5 separate regions of the Homo sapiens genome follow, and regions 2, 3, 4 and 5 are each linked to region 1. Evidence: promoter capture Hi-C in human tissues and cell types (Jung and others, 2019). All regions are on one chromosome and are shown on one strand. Each heading gives the region's core, a stretch centred on a gene start or on the middle of the fragment in contact. The rest is flanking DNA. Distances are from core to core; before and after follow the strand shown.

What was found. Contacts are between HindIII fragments. The study calls those that stand out against the background at their distance.
Region 2: a contact is called between a fragment that was not itself captured here and the fragment with the promoter of TMEM154 in region 1, in 1 of the 25 tissues and cell types used here (lymphoblastoid cells).
Region 3: a contact is called between a fragment that was not itself captured here and the fragment with the promoter of TMEM154 in region 1, in 1 of the 25 tissues and cell types used here (dorsolateral prefrontal cortex).
Region 4: a contact is called between a fragment that was not itself captured here and the fragment with the promoter of TMEM154 in region 1, in 1 of the 25 tissues and cell types used here (lymphoblastoid cells).
Region 5: a fragment that was not itself captured here is called in contact with the fragment with the promoter of TMEM154 in region 1 in 1 of the 25 tissues and cell types used here (lymphoblastoid cells).

The regions. Positions count from the first base shown.
Region 1 is chr4:152,677,098-152,681,515 of GRCh38, forward strand. It overlaps TMEM154 (transmembrane protein 154), which reads right to left and starts at 2,900. Exons shown (of 7, transcript NM_152680.3): 1 at 2,773-2,900. The coding sequence starts at 2,836. It overlaps LOC105377495 (a long non-coding RNA gene), which reads left to right and starts at 2,988. Exons shown (of 4, transcript XR_939359.3): 1 at 2,988-3,207; 2 at 3,490-3,576; 3 at 3,978-4,043; 4 at 4,266-4,418. RefSeq lists enhancers at 2,534-3,363, 2,674-2,983. The HindIII fragment of the contact is 4,840 bases long and covers 1,229-4,418 here.
Region 2 is chr4:152,360,807-152,365,405 of GRCh38, forward strand. All of the region lies in intron 4 of FBXW7 (F-box and WD repeat domain containing 7), which reads right to left. Among named protein-coding and RNA genes, the nearest start is that of FBXW7-AS1, 25 kb to the left of the region's middle. The HindIII fragment of the contact is 7,970 bases long and covers 1-4,599 here.
Region 3 is chr4:153,048,147-153,052,770 of GRCh38, forward strand. No RefSeq gene overlaps it. Among named protein-coding and RNA genes, the nearest start is that of FHDC1, 110 kb to the left of the region's middle. The HindIII fragment of the contact is 3,773 bases long and covers 29-3,801 here.
Region 4 is chr4:152,385,503-152,389,987 of GRCh38, forward strand. All of the region lies in intron 4 of FBXW7 (F-box and WD repeat domain containing 7), which reads right to left. Among named protein-coding and RNA genes, the nearest start is that of FBXW7-AS1, 50 kb to the left of the region's middle. The HindIII fragment of the contact is 3,609 bases long and covers 107-3,715 here.
Region 5 is chr4:152,342,638-152,347,511 of GRCh38, forward strand. It overlaps FBXW7 (F-box and WD repeat domain containing 7), which reads right to left. Exons shown (of 14, transcript NM_001349798.2): 6 at 4,293-4,434. Among named protein-coding and RNA genes, the nearest start is that of FBXW7-AS1, 7.4 kb to the left of the region's middle. The HindIII fragment of the contact is 8,174 bases long and covers 1-4,874 here.

The sequences.
Region 1 (4,418 bases), core at 1,650-4,149:
CTGGCCAAGGCACCTAGGCCCAAGCTTTCCTTTAACTATGCTCACCCATTCCATTATAGTCCCAGAAAAGCTGCTTTCTTATTTCTCTCCTGGTGACTTCCAAGTGAATTATTTCTCTTGGGGTAGAACTCAATTCTATGTCAGGCTATCTATCTCTAAAAAGAGAAGAGGTCGCTGACTCAGAGGTAACAGTGCTGGTCTCATGCAACTGCAGATATTATCTCATGTTGCCTGCTCGTTGTTAATAAAGGCTTAATTTGAGATACATCTCAGAGTATACTCACAAACAGTGTCAGGCCCTTCAGTAGGTTGGATTCATCTAACAAACATCCCCAGGTATTTTTTGAAGAATTCAAGGAAATATACCTGTGACACCTAGAAAGTAACTCATATCCTGAAGCCTTAGGCACTATTAGCTAAAAGTAGTGTACATTAATTAATTTTAAAAATCTTTAATTTAAAATCACCTTTTCCATGATGAATCATCTCAAAGTCATAGCTTTTATTCAACAGCTTTTTGCAAGTGGGCATTTTTCAGACATTGGGAATCCCAGCAGGGCCCAATTAGCATGTTGGATTATTTAGGTAATCCCTGCACTCTACTGAAATGCAACTTTTCATCTTTGACTTCTCTTTACATTCCAACACTACCTGTTTTCAGGAGCTATCAGTTTTTTTTGTAATCAGCCTCATATCCATTCTAGGGATGATTTTCATATTTATCAACAATTATTTTCTCATTTATGCTGAGCCCTTACAGGATTTTGGAAAGTCAAAGGTGAACTACAGAGGATTTTCCCTGGAGCTGTTCACAGCCAGTTGGGAGGCATGGACACAATTATGGTTCAAAGTGATTAGCAGAAGTTTAGGTCTATCGGGGCACAGCAGCAGGTACGAGTAGAGCTCCAGGGAAGGGGCAGAGAAAGGAGACATCAAGGAGGAGATCACATTTAGTTTGATACTTTTAAGGTGATACAAGAATTTGCTAGGTAGGAAAAAGAATGTATTCATTATAGGCAAGAGCCACGGAGGGGGACGACAACTGGAAGGAGGTGCCACTGGGAAGGAGGTTGCAGTGAGAGTCTAAGGGGCAAAAATGAGGAACAAGTGAAGGGGCATAAATGAGGGGTCCTTAAGGGGGAAGATGTGCACGATCAGATTCAGGTGTCAGAAAGGCAACTTTAACCAAGTCTCTTCAGATTCTCTTTTTGCATCTCCTGAATTGCAGACACTAGGACTCAATCATTTTTTAGAAGCTAAAAAAAAAGTTCAGGCAAGATGAATTAGTATTAAGGGAGTGTTTGAGGCACCTGTGGCAGTGTTGTGCAATAGAAGAGGTGGAAGGAGGATGGCTAGGCTTTTCTTCCCTGATGTCCTACTACGAAAGGTTCCAGAGCTCTTGGCAGAGACAGTGATTGGTTCCGGGGCGGCGGTGGGGGGAGGGGGGCAGTGGTGGTGGGGGGTGGAGGAGCTCAAAGAACTCTGGAGTAGAAGCCAGAAGAGCTGACTAGCAGCAAGACCCAGACATCTCCCTTCTTCCACCTCTGTTTCTTCACCTGTGTGCCCAATATGGTTTGAGCTGCATCATCTTCAAGTTCCCTTCCAGCTCCAAAACACTGGGCATAAAACAACACATCAACTTCCAAACCCACTCTGAACACTAAACTCAATTTAACCAGACATCTTTTCAGCTGGAATGATTTGCCTTCCACTTTGTTTTCTACCTCAGATGCCTGGGGGACCACATGGAGAACACCCAGGGGAAGAGAAATTGATGGAGTGGGGTGGCTGGGTGCTGGCTGCTGACCTCCAGGAAGTTGTCACATCTGTTAGGTTGGGGCTGATGTCCCTCATTCTATCTAAAGAACTGTAGCTTGAGAACTTTCCTTTTGCTTGGTAAATACTGCCCTACACTAGAAGCAGTCGGTGTTCATTGACAGAAACAATGGGCAGCCAGTGTATTTGCCCAAAGGCAAGTCAACAAGAGAGGCAGCTGAAGGTGCTTGTGCTTGTTGTAGCAACTGGCAAGGGTGTAAATCAGTTGTTGCTTTTAGCCCATAATAATGAGATTCAATATTGTTTTTTCCAATACCTTTGATTGGTTCCAATCATATTACTTTTTCAAACAAATCTTCATTAGTAACAATCAATGCAAAAAAAAAATCTGTAAAAGTAACAAGGTGCAATAAAAGTAGATGAAAGACCTTACTTGATGTGTTAGAGGGCTACCCTCTAACACATAGCTCTTTGGTAGCTCTTCGGATAATTTCCCGTTTCCTTTTTTTTTTTTTAAGTTTATGTCGTTTCTTTAGTATGCTTTCTAGTAGTAAATTTTCACACCCCAGTTTTTCCAGGAGATTTTGGAATCAGCAGACTTCTCAGCCCACACCATAAAAAGCAAATTAATCATGTCTCTGTTTCAGCCAATTGAAGCTTTTGTTTTTTTTTACATAAACTGCCAAAAAGTTTATGGTTTTCTTAATATGCCCATTAAAGCTGGTAAATTACAGGGACGCACACTTCCTGGAAGACAAAGACTGAAAGAGGGTTAAATGAAGTGAGAGCTGTAGCCAGTTTAGACAGCTGCAGCGAAAGCGAAGTCCCCTCTCCATCCCACCCCCCAAAAAAAGGAGTTCTAATTTTCTCCACTTCTTTCACAGAAAGGATTAGATTTTCTGGGTGTCACCCTCCCCGGCAGAGTTCTGTAGCCTCGGGCACCCTACCAGCTTTTGCGATCCTCCTTCCCAGGAGTAGGAAGTGGAGGCGGCTTACCCCGGCCGACGGGAACGAGCGCGATCACCAGGGCGAAGACTAGGGCTGCGCGGGGAGCCTGCATGTCCGCTCGCCTCGGCAGAGGCGCGCTCAGGATGCTGCGCCGGGCTGCAGCCTCTCTGAAACGTGAACATTTCCTGTTTCCTGCTTGTTTGGGTCGGTGCTGACTTGAAGGAGAGGTGTGTGCCTGTTTTTTAGGAAGTGATGTAATTCTGCAGGAGCCTGTCAGACCAGCAAGGATTGCAAAAGAGAAGTTGCTGTTGAAGCACTGGTTCTATTATCACGCCTCTCCAGCCCTTTGGAGTCCCGGCCTCCAGCTTTTGAAACCGTCCCCGGGGCAACAGAGTCCCTTGCTCAGATGTCGTTCGGTATCTGGGACTGGGAGGGGTCCTGGACCACACGCATTCTCACTCTGTGATTTTGCTTATCCCCCAGGTGAGGCTCCGGGGCTGCCTAGACCCTAGGAAGAAGCTGTCCTGTAGAACTTTCTGCCCTGATGGAAATGTTCCAAGTCTGCGCCGTCTGATACAGTATCAGCCACATTGGCCACTGAGCATTTGAACTGAGGCTAGTGCTGATGGAATTTAAATTTTATTGAATTTTTATAAAATTTTAATAACTCCAAGTGGCTAGTGGCTGCTGTGTTGGATAGCGCAGGCCCAGACAGCAGGGACAACTGCATCATCAGAAAACTGCCAGACCACTTCTCTCCGCCAGGTCCATTCTCCTTTCTCCACTCTGGAATGCCCTCCTCCCACCAAGGCCCACGCCAGATGGAGGTGGATGCCACACCCACACCTTAAGGTTATGTTCTGCTTCCCCAGAGAGAAATGATCTTTTCAAGGTCCATTTCCAAAGGAGAATATGCTCTGAGGGTGGAGGTAGGGGTGAATCTGCATCTCACCTTCCTTCCTTCTTACTTGACAATCAAGTTCTCAGACAACAAACAAAACAGGACAGAAACGAAATAGAATAATGGTAGAAATCCTATCCAATCGAAACAATACAGAAAGGTTGTGTCTAGTATACAGTGGAGATTAGTGTGTGTTGGGTGTTCTATTGGAGGTCCTTCCCTTGGTTTAGGTTTAGGGCCTAAGCATTCAGAATGCAGTTTCATAATCGTGGTGCCAAGAGAGACAGACAGATGGAGAGAGGGGTAGTGTTGAGGCATCAGACACATCTCATCTCTAAACCTTTCCCTGCAGATCACCATCTGAGTCATGACTTCCCGTCGTTTGTCTTCAGTGATCTGGTTGGTGCAAACGTATGAGGTGACTGGAATTCCTTAGCCCCTGACATAGCTGTTAATTTTTCTTTAATGCATTGCTGCTTTTCAATGTCATTAGTCACTGTTTATCTCAGTTATTATTCACAAGAAATAGGTTGGTGATTCATGTAAGGATCAGTTTGTTAATGGATTTACAGTATGCACTTTAATGTTTTAAACTGGCAATTAAGTCAATTCTTGATAAAATATGCTTTTTGCACCACAGGTGACAATACAGAACAAACAGCAGGAGAAAATAGACGTGCTCAAAACTGGGTGATTGATTTGAAAACAACAGAGAAAGAACTATTAATTAAACACTTGCTGAGCATGTGAATAGATCACGGGCTCCAAGACCTGCTGGTACTGAGTTGGGGTG
Region 2 (4,599 bases), core at 1,103-3,602, 320 kb before region 1:
AGCCTAGAAAAATATATTAAAATATATTAAATATATATATATATATAAAATATAGTAAAATGCCAGCCAACATTTGGCTGGCAGATACAGAAAGTCCAGATTCATACTTACTGCACTTTTTAAAATATAGGCATCTCTTCTCATCAAGCATCTTACTAATTTTCCAGAAGAATTCAAAATGACAAGGCATAACTTGAACCAATCTTTTAAAACTCTAGTTATGAATCAAAGTCTGTGAATTCAAACTGATTTCACTAATTCAAAAATATTTATTGAGTACCTATTTTGTTTTGGTGCTAGGCCAGTGAGAAACAAAAATAACACTGGATTCTTGCTCTAGAAAGTGTGCCTCATGGTGATCTTTAATCAATTCTTTGTTTTTATGTAGCTTGCTTGTTCTTTAAGTATTCAAGTGTTTGACATAGCTGTCAAGTGAGTAGGGAAGAACATAGTAATCAGGCCCCCACTACATTTTAAAAAGAGGATTCTATTCATTTTTAAAACATTAATTTAAATTTTAAAGTACTTCCTATATACATATATATACTTTAACAAATTACATTATTTGCTTTAAAAAAAAATCAAGAATTCTATGACTAGCAAATACTTACATGATTCCCTACCTGTTTAGGAGATTCCAAAAGACTCTGAAGGTCAATAAATATTTTCAAGACAACTTAACTTGAAAAGGTATCTGAATGTATATTTGTCTTTTATGTGCAGTGAACTGTAAGACTGATAGTTAGAAGCACTTTGCTATCTTCTCAACATTCTCATAGAAATATTTTATTTACAGATTCACTTTCTTAAAATTTATTTTAGCACATGATTTAAAAAATATTTACCTATAAACACTTGAGACCTCCAAATGTTTGAAAACTAACTTTTGACAGGCATGGTGGCTCACACCTGTAATCCCAGCATTTTGGGAGACCAAGGCTGGTGGATCACTTGAGGTGGAGACCAGCCTGGCCAAGAGTGAAACCCCGACTCTACTAAAAATACAAAAATTAGCCGGGTATGGTGGTGTGCACCTGTAATCCCAGCTACTTGGGAGGCTAAGGCAGGAGAATTGCTTGAACTCGGGAGGTGGAGGGTGCAGTGAGCCGAGATTGCAACACTGCACTCCAGCCTGGGAGACAGAGCTAGACTCCATCTCAAAAAAAAAAAAAAAAAAAAGAACAGAACAGAACAGAAAAAAGAAAAGAAAAAAGAAAGCTTATCACATTTAATACATGATTCTAAAAACTCCTTTATGTGGAATGAATATCATAAGTTTCCCACCAGTTGCATGAAGGCATGGTATGTAATGATGGAATGATGACTATTAAACAAATATGAATTATAACTAAAATTAAGAACTGCTCCTGATATGAACAAGTGCATATAGCTGTGGTCTGTTACGAACTGCTACATGGTAAATTGAGACCACTTTTTAAAGCTAAATCTTAGATTTCTTAAAATCTAAGTTTATGAGTCAATGTATGTTCATAATTATACAATATGAAAAAATCCTATGAGGAATAGTCTAAATCTACCCAAAAGAATATCAATTCAAAGCTAGCAAAAGGATGCTGAACTTTAGTGTAATCTTAAAATTCCAGTATTTTTTAGTTCATGAGATGATAAAGAAGACACACACATATTCCTTTCTTCATTTTAAACCTTTCCTTTAAAGTCATTCCAACAACAGACAACTTAGCATATTAAAAAAGAACTTAGGGCCGGGCGCAGTGGCTCATGCCTGTAATCCCAGCACTTTGGGAGGCTGAGGCAGGTGGATCATAAGGTCACGAGTTCAAGATCAAGTTCACCAGGCCATCACCTGGCCAAGATGGTGAAACCCCGTCTCCACTGAAAATATAAAACAAATTAGCCAGGCATGGTGGTGGGCACCTGTAATCTCAGCTACTTGGGAGGCTGAGGCAGAGAATTGCTCAAACCCGGGAGGCAGAGGATGCAGTGAGCCAAGATTGCACCACTGTACTGCAGCCTGGGCAACAGAGTGAAACTCTCTCTCTCAAAAAAAAAAAAAAAAAAAAACAACAAGAACTTGGAATAGTTTTCAAGAGAAGATAAATGAAGATATGTTAATCATCATGATCACAACATAAACAGCAAAGATTAAAATTAAGTGGTATTTTCCAAGATATTTTTAGTCACCTGACTTTTATTAAACCATTGCAATAAACAGATTTTGTTAGACTAAGATGTAATTTACCCCCTACCAATCCATTTATTTCAAAGACTTTAACTTTGTGAGATTCACAATATTTGTTTATCATTTATAGGTAGCACAGAAAAAGCTAGTGACTGAGAGCAATTCATGTGAGCCTCTAACTCCAAATTCCATTATAATATTATCAGTCTCATCCAAATGAATCCTGAGTCATATAATGATTCTCCATTTTCTAAACAATAAAACAAGAGGGAGAAAAAATTAAGCAGTGATTCAAATGTTATATTTTTAGATCTAGATCTACCACATTTTAGAAATATTTGTCCAGGGTTACTAAAAGCCAAGCACTAAGCAAAAAAGATGCAAAATTGAGCAAGATGTAATATCTATCCTGGAAGCACTCCCAACTCAGGAGGGAAGGACAGGCAAGTCAATAAAAAATGACAAATCCATTTGACTAATAAGTGAAACTGCTTAATTTGTATGACAATATATACAACTAGAAAGAGGAAGAGATAATATTTTCAAGAAATGCACATGGCAATATTTTAAACCAAATGTATACAAGAAAAATAAACACTAGATTTTAAACTGACCTGAATGCTCTTTCAGTGCCCACTATCAAAGATGCTGCAAACTTTATTCCAGTTTGAATAAGCAACTCCTTTTCAAAAAGATGTTTTCTTAAGAATACAATGTATACAGGGAAGGAAACTCACTATATGTCAGGCACTCTTCCTAGGTGTTTTTCTTATATTAATTCAATGAAACGGTTTAACAACTTTCTGCAGAAAGTACTATTATTATCTCTATTTTACAGATGAGGAAAGAGGCACAGAGAGTTTTAAGCGACCCCAAGGTCACTTAAGGTAGATGGGATTTGAACCTAAGGAAGTCCTGGTCTTCAGTTTACAAAAAAATAAAAATAGGGTTCTCTATATACAAAGCAAGAAATATTGGCAGTTTAAATATCTCTAAGATGTTTTCTTAGTTATTTCAGTATGCAAATGTGTGATGTGAATATGAAATCCACACTAGAGCCACTGCAGACTTGCAGAAAGAAGAGACGGACTATGCAGCTAATTGTGTACTGTGATACACTTTATTTCTGGGAATTCACCAGGAGCAGCTTGACAACAAGTTAATACACTACTGCCAGTGGCTCCGCTTGGTTAAGAACTGCTCTTATAATCTGTGACATTATATTGAGGCCAGGCAGTCATCAGTGGGCATACTGGAAGAAACACAACAACAAATGGGTTTTGCTTCCTTTTCCCAAACCCTCTCAGGACTTCTATGTCTTACTCTCCTTCCTTCATGTCCTGCTTTATTTCCCTAAAATATGAAATAAAAGAGAGCTGAAAACACAAACATCAAAGGATCTCCATTGCAGTGTCCTTTCAACGAAGCTACTAGGTTTTTTCCTCCTTACCAAAATGATTTGAACCCTATGGAAAACTGGCAAAAGTTATGAATCATAATATTTATGAAAGAAACTGCTTCAAATGTTCTTTGTTGATTACTCAAACCCAAATACACTTAATAAGGGACTATGACTTCTTCATTGAAAATTTTTTTAGTACACAGCCTAAAAATACTTGACTTACTAACCAAGTAGTAACAAATACACAGGATTTTCCATCTGAATACATAGAGCACATGCTTTTCAATATGTGGCTATCATTTGGGCCCTGTTTCTTAACTTCATTACATAAGGCCTTTTTTAAAGAGCCAATCCATCTTCATTAATTGTCCATTTGATCCATGTATGGTTATCATTCCTAACAGTGAACATCTGTATTGAAACATATGTATCTCTGTGATTCTACCCTACACTTTGTCTCAAGTATCTCCATAATTATATTCTACCTAATATACATAATTACAACACATGCAGATTTACATGGTTATTTCAGTCTGCCACAGATACTCCCATTCATTCAATATAATAGTTACTTAGTTGCCTAACATAAGCTAAACTAAGTCTTGTGTCTGTTTCATGGCTGGAGTTCACAGCATAGTGGGCAAGATAATGAGACAAAACAAAGCAAAACTGCAACTGTGGTAAATGCTGCAGTGTTCGAAGAGTGTTAAGAATGGTGAGGTTTCCACCTAGTCTGTGGGTTCACAGAAGGCATCTTCTCGCTGAATGAATGACTGAGCTAGGTTCGGAGCAGGGAGGGATAACCACCTATAGCTAGAGGACACTGAACAGAGGTAGGATGGCAGGTGTAAGATGAGGCTGAAGAAGTAGACAAGGGATACATTACCCAAGACCTCAAAGGATTTTGGGTTTTACCATAAGAGTAATGAAAAGCTAATGCTGCATAGTAGTTAAGAAAAAGATATAATCAGATGTTATTTCTTGAAAAAAATCATTCAAAGTGTAATGCTGAAAATAGAATGGCAGTGATTGAGAG
Region 3 (4,624 bases), core at 665-3,164, 370 kb after region 1:
GTCATGGGGGCAGATTGCTCATGAATGGCTGGGTGCTGTACTTTTTTTTTTTTAACTCCAACTTTTATTTTAGATCCAAGGGGTACGTGTAGAGATTTGCTACATGGGTATGTTGTGTGATACTGAGATTTGGAGTACGATTGAACTCGCCACCAAGGAAGCGAGAGCACAGTACTCAATAGGTAGTTTTTCAACCCTTGTCCTCGCCTCCTCCCTTTTGGAATCCCCAGTGGTTTTTGTTGCCATCTTGCTGTCTGTGTTTACCCAGTGTTTAGCTCCCACTTATAAGTGAGAACATATGGTATTTGGTTTTCTATTCCTGCATTAATTCACTTAGGATAATGGCCCCAGCTGCACCCATGTTGCTGCAAAGAACATGATTTCATTCTTTTTATGGCTGCATAGTATTCCATGGTGTATATGTACCACATTTTCTTTATCTAATCCACTGTTGATGAGCACCTGGGTTGATTCCATGTCTTTGGTATTGTGAATAGTGCTGTGATGAACATATGGGAGCATGCCTCTTTTTGGCAGAACAATTTATTTTCCTTTGAGTATATACCAATAATGAGATGCTGGATCAAATGATAGTTAACTGTTAGTTCTTTGAAAAATCTCCAAACTGCTATCCACAGTGGCTGAACTGACTTACATTCCCACCAACAGTGTGTAAGTGTTCCCTTTTTTCCACAGCCCTGCCAACATCTGTTATGTTTTTTACTTTTTAACAAAGGGCATTCTGAGTGGTTTGAGGTGGTATCTCACTGTGGTTTTAATTTGCATTTCTCTGGTGATTAGTGATGTTGAGCATTTTTTCATGTTTGTTGGCCACATATATGTCTTCTGAGAAGAAATACATGTCCTTTGCCCACTTTTTAATGGGGTTATCTGTTTTTTGCCATGGTCACCATTGCACTCCAGCCTGGGCAACAAAAGGAGACTTTGTCTCAGAAAAAAAAAAGAAAGAAAATATTCATCTACGTTTTCTTCTAGAAGCTGTATTTTTTACCTTTCACATTAAGACCTATAACCTATTTTGAATTAATTTTTGTGTGTAGCATTAAGCAGGTATGAAAGTTCATTTTTCCCATATAGATATACACTTGACCCAGGAACATTTATTGACAGAGTCCCTTTGTCATGAATCAATTTAAGCTTCTTATAGATTCTGGATAGTAGACCTTTGCCAGATGCAGAGTTCTGTGAATATTTTCTCCCATTCTGTAGGTAGTCTGTTTACTGCATTAATAGTTTGTCTTGTTGTGCAGAACCTCTTGTCAATTTTTGTTTTTGTTGAAATTGCTTTTGAGGACTTAGCATAAATTATTTTCCAAGGGTGATGTCGAGAAAGGTATTTCCTAGATTTTCCTCTTGGATTCTTATAGTTTGAGGTCTTATATTTAAGTCTCTAATCCATCTTGAATTACTTTTTGCATATGGTGATAAGTAGGGGTCCAGTTTCATTCCTCTGCATATGGCTAGCCAGTTATCACAGCACCATTTATTAAACATGGAGTCCTTTCCCCATTGCTTATTTTTGGTAATTACCCAGTCTCAAGTATTGCTTTACAGCAACACAAAATGGGCTAAGATGGTACCTGTTTAAATCTCTTGCTCATTTAGAAATTTTGATTATTTATCTTTTTTCATTTGAAGGTGCTCGCTACATATTCTGCACATAGATGCTTTATCAGATATATCTATATGAATATCTCTCAGTCCGTGGTTTGCCTCTTCACTCCCTTAATATATATTTTGGTGAAGAGAAGTTTCTTAATTTTAATGTAGCCCATTGATCAACCTTAATTTTTAATAGTTAGTGACTTTTCCGTTCTACTTAAGAAATCTTTGACTACCCCTATGGTCATGAAAATATTCTTTTTGGTTGGGCACGTTCACTCATGCCTATAATCTCAGCACTTTGGGAGGCCAAGGCAGGAGGATCACTAGAGCCCAGTAGTTTGAGACCAGCCTAGGCAATACAGTGAAAGTCTCTACAAAAAAATACAAAAATTAGCCAGGCATGGTGATGCGCATCTGTAGTCCCAGATACTCAGGAGGCTGAGATGGGAGAATCACTTGAGCCCAGCAGTTTGAGGCTATGGTGAGCCATGATCACCATTGCACTCCAGCCTGGGCAACAAAAGGAGACTTTGTCTCAGAAAAAAAAAAGAAAGAAAATATTCATTTATGTTTTCTTCTAGAAGCTGTATTTTTTACCTTTCACATTAAGACTTATAACCCATTTTGAATTAATTTTTATGTGTAGTATTAAGCAAGTATGAAAGTTCATTTTTCCCATATAGATATATGCTTGACCCAGGACCATTTATTGACAGGGTGCCTTTGTCATGAATCAACTATGTGATTTGTCACATATTGTATATGTGTAGGTTTGTTTCTGGGCTCTTGATTCTGTTCTATGGATTTATTTAAATATTCTCGTGTCAATACCATGTTGCCTTGATTACAGCCTCTATTTCTTGAATGCAAAGTCTTCTTCATAGCTATTATTTTTTTCCCAGAAAAAAAGTATAATTTTTTAGTAATTAAAGTCCTCACCCTCCTGATAAGTTTTCCCTAAATTTTTAGGTTGGATACTCTTAAACCACTTTTTAAAATAATAATAAAAAGCTAAACTAATATGTACTTTACCTTTTTCTTTTTTTTTTTTTTTGAGACAGAGTCTCACTCTGCTGTCCAGGCTAGAGTGTAATGGTGTGATCTCGGCTCACTATAACCTCCACCTCCTGGGTTCAAGCGATTCTCCTGCCTCAGCCTCCCGGGTAGCTGGGATTATAGGCATGCGCCACCATGCCTGGCTGGTTTTTGTATTTTTAGTAGAGATGGGGTTATGCCATGTTGACTACCCTGGTTTTGAACTCCTGGCCTCAAGCAATCCACCCACCTTGGCCTCCCAAAGTGCTAGGATTACAGGTGTGAACTTTATATTTTCAGTGGACGTTTTATTGAAGTATACCATCTGGAGAGAAGTACACACATCATAAATGTACAGCTTGACGAATTTTCACAAAATGAATGCACTCATGTGTCTAGCACCCAGATCATTATTAGCCCCTCCTGCCCCCGCTCGCCACTGCCCTGACTTCTGACACTACTGAATGATTTCTGCCCACCACCCCCAACCCAAGACGAAGTCTTGCTCTGTCACCCAGGCTGGAGTGCAGTGGTGCCAACTTGGCTCACTGCAACCTCTACCTCCCGGGTTCAAGCAATTCTCCTGCCTCAGCCTCCCAAGTAGCTGGGATTACAGGCATGTGCCACCATGCCCGGTTGAATTTTGTATTTTTAGTAGAGATGGGGTTTCACCATCTTGGCTAGGCTGGTCTCTAACTCCTGACCTCAGGTGATCCGCCCACCTCGGCCTCCCAAAGTGTTGGGATTACAGGTGTGAGCCACCCTGCCCAGGGTGTTGGTTTGGAAATCTATATGACTATGTAACACTTATTCTTCTGTGTTAGACATCTTTTATTCAACATTGCATCTGTAAGCTTTATCCATACCATTATATGTAGTTGTAGCTTCTTTATTATCATTGATACATAGTATTCCATTGTATGAATTTATGATAATTTTTTATCCATTCTTGCATTAGTCAATTCTCACACTGCTAATAAAGACATATCCAAGACTGGGTAATTTATAAAGGAAAGAGGTTCAATTGACTCACAATCCAGCCTGGCTGGGGAGGCCTCAAGAAACTTACAATAATGGTGGAAGGAGAAGCAGGCACATCCTTCTTCACATGTGGCAACAAGAAGAAGTGCCCAGCAAAAGGGAGGAAAGCCCCTTATAAAACCATCAGATCTTGTGAGAACTCACTCACTACCACAAGAATAGCATGAGGGTAACCACCTCCATGATTAAATTACTTCTCACCAGGTCCCTCCTGCGACATGTGAGGATTATGGGAACTACAATTCAAGATGAGATTTGGGTGGGGACACAGCCAAACCACATCAACTCTATTGTTGAATATTTCATTTTTGCCCCAGTTTTTGGCTACTATGATTAGTGCTACTATCAGCATTATTATATATGTGTTTTAATGGACAGATGCAAGCTTTTCTGTTGGGTGTATACCTAGGAGTAGAATTGCTGTTTCATAGGGAATGCATTATAAATAGCTTTAGTAGATGCTGTTAAACAGTGTTCCAAAGCAGATGAACAAATTTACACTCCTCCAGTGATGCATGAGAGTTCTAGTCACTCCACATCTTCTCTCAACACTTCATATTATCTTTTCCATAGTAGCCATTCTGGTGGTGTGTAGTGGTCACTTGCTATGGTTTGAATTAGAATTTATCTGATGACTCATAAAGTTGAGTATTTTTTCATCAGTTTATTTACCATTGCCCTCTTTGGTGAAGTGCCCATTTAAGTATCTTACCCTTTTTTCTGACTGAGCCGTCTGCTCAATATATCTATTAGATTATGCTTGATAATTGTGCCATTAAATTCTTCTCTGTTATTACATATGTCCTGTATGTTTGATTTATCAGGGTTTAAAAGTATCAGAATTACCTGAGAAATTTAAATAAATGCCCTTGGTGAGATCCCATCTCTGATGATTAAATCTGGATTTCTGATGAATGGAATC
Region 4 (4,485 bases), core at 661-3,160, 290 kb before region 1:
TTAGAATTGAAAAGAACTTGGATTGGGAAAATTAAAACTAAAATCAACAGTTTCTAGTTTCTAAGAGACCAAAAGTTACTATGAAGTAAAGCTAGGCTTTTCATTTTCATGAAATAATTTACAATGACAACAGAAACAAAACATAAGTGAACACAATTAAGGCTGTTTGTACCTCAAATGTGGAGTTTTTTAGTGGATACCAAGTTTTGGTAAGCACAAGGGGGTAACATTCTAATTCAATTATTATTTTTTTAAATCAGTAAATAGCTGCCCTCAACTGGATAATACAGGGCATTGCAACTGTGGCAAACCAAACGCTGTAACAGAATCCTGTGTTTGTCATAATATATTTTTGGAAAAAGAAGACATTATCAATGATTGGGCAAAGTGAGTACTAATTTCCAAATATATATACTACAAGTTTCATTTTTTTGGGAGGATTCAAGTAACAGTATTTCTAATGCGATATTCCCAATCAACACGAAACACTAAAAAAACAAACCTTCAAATATAGACAAAAACCCTAATAAATGAGGGAAATCATAGACAAGGTATATAAGAACCCCAACTGTTAATACTTCAAAATGTAGCTAATTCCATGTGTTCAAGAAAAGATAAAGTCTGAGTCTCAATTCTACTCTTAAAAACATTAAAGATACTCTTTAATTACTACCCAAATTGAGACTCTTAAAAACAGACAAGCTCTTTTAAAGATGATACCACAAATAATAAGGCAGTGCAATATGATAGGTAGGAACATGGACTCCAGAACCAAACTAACTTAGTCCAAATCCTGGCTTTACCAGGTATGACCTTAATTTAATTCGTGTCTCAAGTTCACCTAGGCAGTACTCATAGGACTGTTGTGAGGATTAAAAATTAGTTGATATAAGTATACAGAGTAACGCCTCACATCTAGTAAGTGTTCGATAGTGTTAATTAAACTGTCATTATGATTACTACTACTATTAATGGAATCAAAAATCACATAGAGCTTTGTAGATTACATTTCCAATTTTAAAATCACCAGGAAATAAAGCAGATTCTAAAATCCATCTATAATAACTTTGGAAAAGAATATTTTAAAACATATTATTTGTAAGTTTCAGAAAGACTTCTATAATTCTGTCAAAATTTTTGCCAAAATATGAAGCTGTAGTATCTTAGCCATAGTGTCTTGGCATTTTAAGATTCCAGATACCACTGATCATCCAAGATGGGCTAAACATTAGGGAACTTGTAGTAAAGAAAAGGTCTTTATATAAGGTAACTTATTTTGCCCACTTATCACTCCCTGATTTTCTTTCTTCTAAAAATTTGCATCCGTAAAAACAATTATATATAAATGTGACATGTAATAAAATATCACCAATACGGTATCTGTAAAATGCATTACAAGTCCAAGCACTCCAATTCTCTTGTAACAACAATAAAAATACCATCACAGCAATTTACTCTGGATTTCCATCTTTTCTTTCATTCAGTATTATACAAAAGGCTAGAAATTTAACTGCTCCTGACCAAAGCCACAGCATATGAGCAGCACAAAGATTTTCCATTTTTCATAAATTATTCCTGAATCAGCTAAAACAAATCACTCAGAAGATGTAAATCTCCCTGCAAATTCAAATTGACTTTATACCAAGAGTTTTCAAAGTCTTACCTCAAAAACTTTCACAGGAATAATATCAACGTATGTTATTTGAATTCAGTATTATTCACTGCTTCTGTGAATTCAGGCAACAAGTGACTTACTCTGTTGTAGAAACAGAAAGTCCCACATGCTAAAAAGTATACCATTACTGAAGTGCAATAAATCAGAATCAAAATCCTTCTGATCAGATAATATGGTATTATCAAGCATACTCACTTATTTCACAGATACAGAGTAAAGCAGATTATTTTATCTACCAAATCAGTTTTTAGTCTTCCTAACATCATAGATATCAGAGTATTAAAGTATTTCCCTACCAAGCAATTCACAAATGAACGCAATTCATGGTTGAAGACGGAACAATTTAAACACAGAGGAAAACAATCATAAATCAATAAATTAAACCCTCTGCTTAATGATAAATTATCAAGCTTGTATTAGCAAAAACTGTAAAAAAAAAAAAAAAAACATCCAGCAAGCAACATATTACTTTAAATGCAGAAACATAAATACAATTAGATTGGGCATCAAAGAAAAAAAACATGGCATACCTTTTTTTTTTTTTTTTTTGAGACTGAGTCTTGCTCTGTTGCCTAGGCTGGAGTGCAGTGGTGTAATGTCGGCTCACTGCAACCTCCGCCTCCCAGGTTCAAGCAATTCTCCTGCCTCAGTCTCCTGAGCAGCTGGGATTACAGGTGCCCACCACCACGCCCAGCTAATTTTTGTTATTTTTAGTAGAGACAGGGTTTTACTATGTTGGCCAGGCTGGTCTCGAACTCCTGACCTTGTGATCCGCCCACCTCGGCCTCCCAAAGTGCTGGGATTACAGGCGTGAGCCACAGCGCCTGGTCAGGATATCTTTTAAAGTTTTAGTATTTTTTTTTTAAGCTTTAGTATTCACAAAAGGTATGTCAAATAAATTAAAATGTTTTTATAAGATTAAAATCACATTTAAAATGATTACTAAAAATGTTCTAAAAGATATTTATTTACATGCTCAAAGTGCTCACTCAGATTACAACTTCCAATTATAATGTATTTGAGACATTACATGTATGTAAACATTCAATGGACAACATACTGCACTTCCCTGCTAATTTTCTTCATTTGGGCAACAAGGGCGGCCCCTAACTAAGAGAAATATGCTTGGGTTCTGAAGCAGCACATACAACATACACAAGTGTTATAAAAATGTGACCTGATAATTGGACATTTGCAAAATAAAAGCATTGCATGTACATGCCTATATGCACAGATAGGTAGCATTCTCAAAATAAAAATGCCAGAATACTAGATTATATAAGGTATTGTAACTGCTCTGATTTATGGAATCAACATCTCAATGTTAGACATTTAAGCTGTTTTATATTCCAGTTATTTCCAAAAATTTTGCTGAAAATACATTATAAATTAAAAAGTAAAACACAGAAAACCAACCAAAACAAGTGCTAATAAATTATAAGTTGACAGATGACAAAACCATCCCATGGTACACCAGAAACTCCAAGATTCAGGAACCTTAACTATTTAATGTCTTGCAGTACAATTACCTGGAGTTTATACTTCAGATTTCTACAAAGAGGAGGCTAAATATTTAATAGATATAGACTATCTGACTTCTCTTCAGATGATTGAGATTAAGTCCCTTGCAGGTTTAAGAGTACATTACATCTCTAAATCAACAGAATGAAAAGACAACCTACAGAATGGGAGAAAATATTTGCAAACTATGCTTCTAACAGGGGGCTGATATGCAGAATTGACAGGCAACTCAACAACAAAAACCAAATTAACTTCATTAAAAAGTGGGAAAAGAACATGAATAAATACTTCTCAAAAGAAGACATACATATTTTTTCATGCCTACAAGCATGAAAAAATGTTCAACATCATTATCAAAGAAATGCAAAGTAAAACCACAATGAGATCTCATCTCACACCATTCAGAATGGCTATTATTAAAAAGACAAAAAATAATAGATGTTGGCGAGGATGTGGAGAAAAAGAAATGCTTATACGGTGTTGGTGGGAATGCAAATTAGTACAATCTCTATGGAAAACATTATGGAGATTTCTCAGAGAACTAATAATAGAACTATCATTTGATCCAGCAATCCCACTACTGGGCATCTACCCAAAAGAAAAGAAATCATTATTTTAAAGATGCCCAAGAATTTAGTTGGTGATTATAATAGTTATAACTTTAAGTCAACTATGATAACTAACCCACATATATATATGTTTACACACACACACAAATGGAATACTATTCAGCTATAAAAAAGAATGAAATGTCTTTTGCAGCAACATGGATGGAATTGGAGGTGATTCTTCAGTGAAACAACACAGAAACAGAAAGTCAAATACCACGTTTCACTTACAAGTGAAAGCTAAGTAAAGTGTACACATGAACATGGAGTGTGTAGTAATAGATATTAAGAGACTCAGAAGGGTGACATGCAGGGAGGATGCTGAGAGATGAGAAATCACTTAACGGGTACAATGTATACTATTTGGGTGACAGGTACACTAAAGGCCCAAATTTCACCACTATGTAATATATCCATGTAAAAAAAACTAGAGTACCCCTTAAATTTATACCAAAAAAAAGCATATTACAGCTCTAATAATATTACATATATGGCCTTCTTGTAAGAAGGTTCAATTTGGTGAGCTTTCCTTTATTATAGTTTAGTGAACAATATAGCTAGTTTATAAAATATATCCAAATAAAATGCATTGTTTCAATTCTTTTGTGTCTGCCTTCTTTTACAAAAGGCATGTATGCCTGTGCTCTAAATGTTTTTGTATAGTAATAAGAAAACATTTTT
Region 5 (4,874 bases), core at 1,911-4,410, 330 kb before region 1:
ACCTCTAGCACATGGTTATCCAGTCTGTTTGAACAGTTCCAGGATTCGAGTAACTTATTATCTCCCATTCTACTGTGGACCAGTTCTAATTGCTAAGTTTAACTTAATGCCAAAATCTGACTCAAAGAACATAATTCAGGTTTTACTTTCTGAAGAAACCAAGAATGAATCTTTTCCTACTTTTATACAAAAGTCGTTAAAATGTTAAAAACAGACATCACATTTTCTCCTGGTCTTCTCTAGCTAAATACATGACTTTCTTCAAGTCTTTCACACAAAACAAGGTTTTTAAATCACTGTGTCCCAAATACAATTTCAAAGTAATAATAAATTCAATTTTGGCACTATCCTGTAGGTTTTAATCTTTTGTTGATTAGCAAATAAGATGTAAATAAAGTAGATTTGAGAACATGTACAATTTCTAAGTGTTCCCATGAAACCTAATTAAATCTTCCAATGGAGAAGTTTTTTCTCCATTTTTAATATCAAAACACATGTATTTTATACTTATCATTTAAAAATATTTTTAGTATAACATCTTTTCAAAGTACATAAATAGCTTAATTCCAATATGCTTTAATTAAAATAATGTAAAGCTAATGGCATCTGTGTAAGGTTAAAGTTCTTCCATATCACTTTATCTTTGATCCTCATAGCAATACTGTGAAGCTAGTGTTAACGGTCCCTTTTTAGATCTGAGAAAATTTCTGAGGTCCACTAAGATTATTTCTTGACCAAGGGAAGAAACTAACATTTATTGAGTCTCCAATATATTTCCAAGTATAACTTTAAGCAGATGTACATGTTTTTTCCCCTTTGACAACTTTTTAATGTTATGTGTTTTATAGAGCGTGAAAATAAAGGCAAGAATGGTTATATATTAATGAAATTATTGTTTTTAAGAGACAATGTCAAAATTTGAACTAAGAACTTGTCCTTCTATGTCATTTGTGCTATTCTCAAGATGCTTCTGAATACAAATTTCAATATAAGATAATGTTCATGTAATTAATGTCTTTACCCAGTCTGAAAAGTTTAAGTGAAAAACCATTTATTAGCACCTGAATGATATAAACAAGCCAAAAAAATGACCAACTCGCTTCCCTAAATTAACTGAAGCATCAATCTGACTGCCATACAAAGTGGATCAATGGCTACTGAAAATTCAAATGGTATAAACTTTCTATTTTTTTTTTTGGTTTTTGTCTTTAATTTGCACTTCTATTTTCTAGTGGCATTCTGTTTCAGTCCTCTTTTATGCAAAATGGAATATCATTTGTTCATACTCAATTTATAAACAGAATACAGAGTACTTTGTCAGAATAGATGGAACTGGACCAAAGCAATGCTGTATCACTGCCTTAGGAGCAATAGCAGAACAGTAAGGGGACAAGCTCTCCCATACTGCTTATTATGCAACAGAAAAGTCATCATGAAATGCCCCCACAGTATATTTGTAGAAAACATGCCAGTTTAATTATCCCTCAACTCTCTCACATAGGTCAACTCATGACTCCCCACTTTATTATGAAATTATATCTCTACAAGTTAGACATTAAAGCACAGTAAGCCTTTAGGCAAGTGAATCATTTCTAGTTACTCTGGGACCAGCCCTGAAAATAAAGGGCAGTGTACAACAATGAGGCCTTGGGTGTGTCAGAGACAGACATGGTACTCAAAAGATGAAGGTCCTGATCTACCTGTCCAGTTGACCTTTTGTTGCTACAGATTTCTTTGCTACAGAATATTTATCTGAAAAAAATGTATATAATACTATACCTGCAGGGGTAATTCCACATGCTATTCCTGTTAACTAAGAACATGTTTTCTTCACTGCACCTACTCCTTTTACAGGACCAAAAGCTATTCTAACATTCTTTAGCTTATTGAATACAGTTTTTTTTTTTTTCACATTAACATTTCCGAAATTGGAATGCATCTAAAAAAACTATGGTGTCTCAGATTTGATGAAATACAGCATGCGGTAACATTTGGACATTTTATTTAAAAAGCATAAGCTAGCTAAACAAGCAAACGGTGTACAATGAACTCTCTAAAATATCCTGACTAAAATAAAGCTGAAATGCCTCTTCCTATAGATCAATACTACAGAGTCCCTTTAAAATTGAGAAATATCCTAGATAGCAAGCAAAGAATATTCAGGTATTCCAAAACGTTGGAAAAAATGAGCCCTACCACAGAAAAAGTAAATCTTACTCTGAACTACCTTCTGAAAAGAAATAAGCCTTTTCATATAAAATAAGCATTTTGGAGGTTATCTACAATGATGATAAAACTATTGCTAATAGTGTAATTTTCAATCATGTTGGTATTTTCTTATAAAAATGATATGAAATCAGTGAAATCATGTGATATGAAATCAGAATGATATATGCTGTTCACACTACATGCATGTGTTAGCATGGCAACATACAACCATATTCCTACCTCTTTGGCTTAATCAGAGATGATAAAAATCTTTAAATTATTTTTTTAAGGCTATACAAGTGTCCGAGTTTTATTTTCGCCTCTTATTGACGGATAAATTTCCTTTTAAAAGGATGGGACAAAATTAAAAATTTAGAATTCTGAGGGTGTGCATAGGAAAAAATAAAAATTAATTAACATTTTACAAACCATCATGAACCAGAGGCAAAATAACTCAGGAGGAAGGGTAGGAATAATCCCTGGGGAAAAGGTAAGTTTAATCAACAAATGACTATGAAAATGAAAACTTAAAAAAAATTCTTTGTAATTACAGTGGCTTATAACATTTTAATAACAATAAAATCTAACTTTCATTCCTCTAACCCAGATTCTTTAGTACCATTGACATTTTGGGCTGGATAATTCTTTGGCATGGAGATCGTCCTTTGTATTGCCTCTACTTACTAGATGCCAGCAGTGTCCTGCGCCCCATCCCCTCAGTTATAAAAATGAAAAATGTCTTGAGACACTTTTGTCTCAACGCGGGGAAAAACTAATCCCTGTTGAGAGCAAGGCTTAAATCTTTCAGTTACCAACCAAAAAAAGGTTATCCTAGTTTTGCAGAAATCACCTGAAGGGTAGAAAACAATTTTAAAAAACCATTTAAAAGCAATACTGCTCCAAGTTAGTTTTCTACCTACAGAAGAAAAAAATAGACACATTTATCTCATATTCATCTAGGTATTTAAAATATTAGGGTTTACAAAGTGAACACCTTAAAAATCTGAAACACTAAAAGTCAAGTAAAGTATCATCTTTACCAACGATTATTGCCTTATGCATTGATTAAATACCTAACCATTCAAGCAGCCAGAGGTAGGGTAGTATATTCTTTTTACATTACTATGGAGGCTAATATCAGATATTTTTTACTTTACATAATTTATATTATTTATTATTTGCAACAAATAATTGAGTAAGTACTTAATCCTTGCCATGTATTTTGCTAAACACTTGATGTATATGCATTATCTTACTGGAAGAAGAGATAAATCAATGTAATATCACTATCTTAGGTTATAAAGTTCATAATATTCAGGGTTTGGTTGTAACCAATCTTCCCTGTACACATCCAAAGAATATAAATACTATTAAAATATAGTAATCAGGATTCAAGCATGGTAAGCCATATACAAGCATGGCACTGAAGAAAAGAAGCTGTATTAACTCTAGCTAGAATGGTTCTTAAATTACTCTTAAATGCCTAACTTACAAGCAATGCAGTTTAGAAAACTAGACAACCCAGAAATTCAAACAAAGGAGAAGATGAAGGAAGGTCTTATTATTTAAAAAGCAATAAAAAAAATGTCAGTGCACAGTTACACAAATAAGTATTGGACTTTCTCAATTATGACATTCAAAAATTGAGTTCCCTTGTTTTTAATAGCATTTTTAAATTGAAATAAACAGCACATAACATTCACCATTTTCAAGTATATACTTCAGTGCTTCCCAGTATATTCACCTTGCTGTGCAACCATCGCTACTATCCAATTCCAGAACACTTCCATCACCCCAAAAGGACAATCTGTACCTACTGGCAGTTAGTCCTTCTCCTCCCCTCATTGTCAGGCAACCATTAATCTACTTTCTGTCTCTATGGATTTGCCTATTCTGGACATTTCATATAAAGAGAATCAACATGTGGCCTTTTGTGTCTGGCTTCTTTCACTTGGCAGAATGATTTCAAAATTCATCCACAGTATACTATGTAACAGTGTTTCCTTCTTTTTTTACGGATGAATAATCCCTTATTTTGCAGCAATTAAGTGAGGCATTTCAAGTACTATGTTTAGATATGTCACCTGAAACATTTTTAGCCATTCCTGGAGGCCTGTAGGTGGCTGGACAGATGTAATTCGGCGTCGTTGTTGCCCTTGGCCATTGGCTGCTCTGAGGTCCCCAAAAGTTGTTGGTGTTGCTGAACATGGTACAAGCCCAGTGGTACTACAAAAAAAAAAAAAAGAGAGAGAGAAAGGATAAAAGGAAAAAAACAAAAGTGAAAGCAAAGATAGATACTTATTAATAATAGATTCTAGTACAAAGAATGATGATCTGGCATATTTCAAACATCAATTAATTACCTTTCTTCCCAGAGATCACAGGTACACAAAACCTATTTGCTATTCTTACAGTAAGTTTCCTCCCTCCTATATAACGCCTGTTATTATCCCAGAAATGCTAATTGCAACCAAATAACAGAATCTCCATGACAAAACTGCAAGTTGTTAATATATACAAATAAAGTTAAAATATTTCCTTAGAACATACAAGTCCCACTTCTCCTATGACTGGTCTTTGGTGACATAAGTAAAGTTTAAATTTTCTTTATAAAAAGGGTTGTGATACTTTATTAAAGCTTTAAAAAACTCAGACATAGAAATACT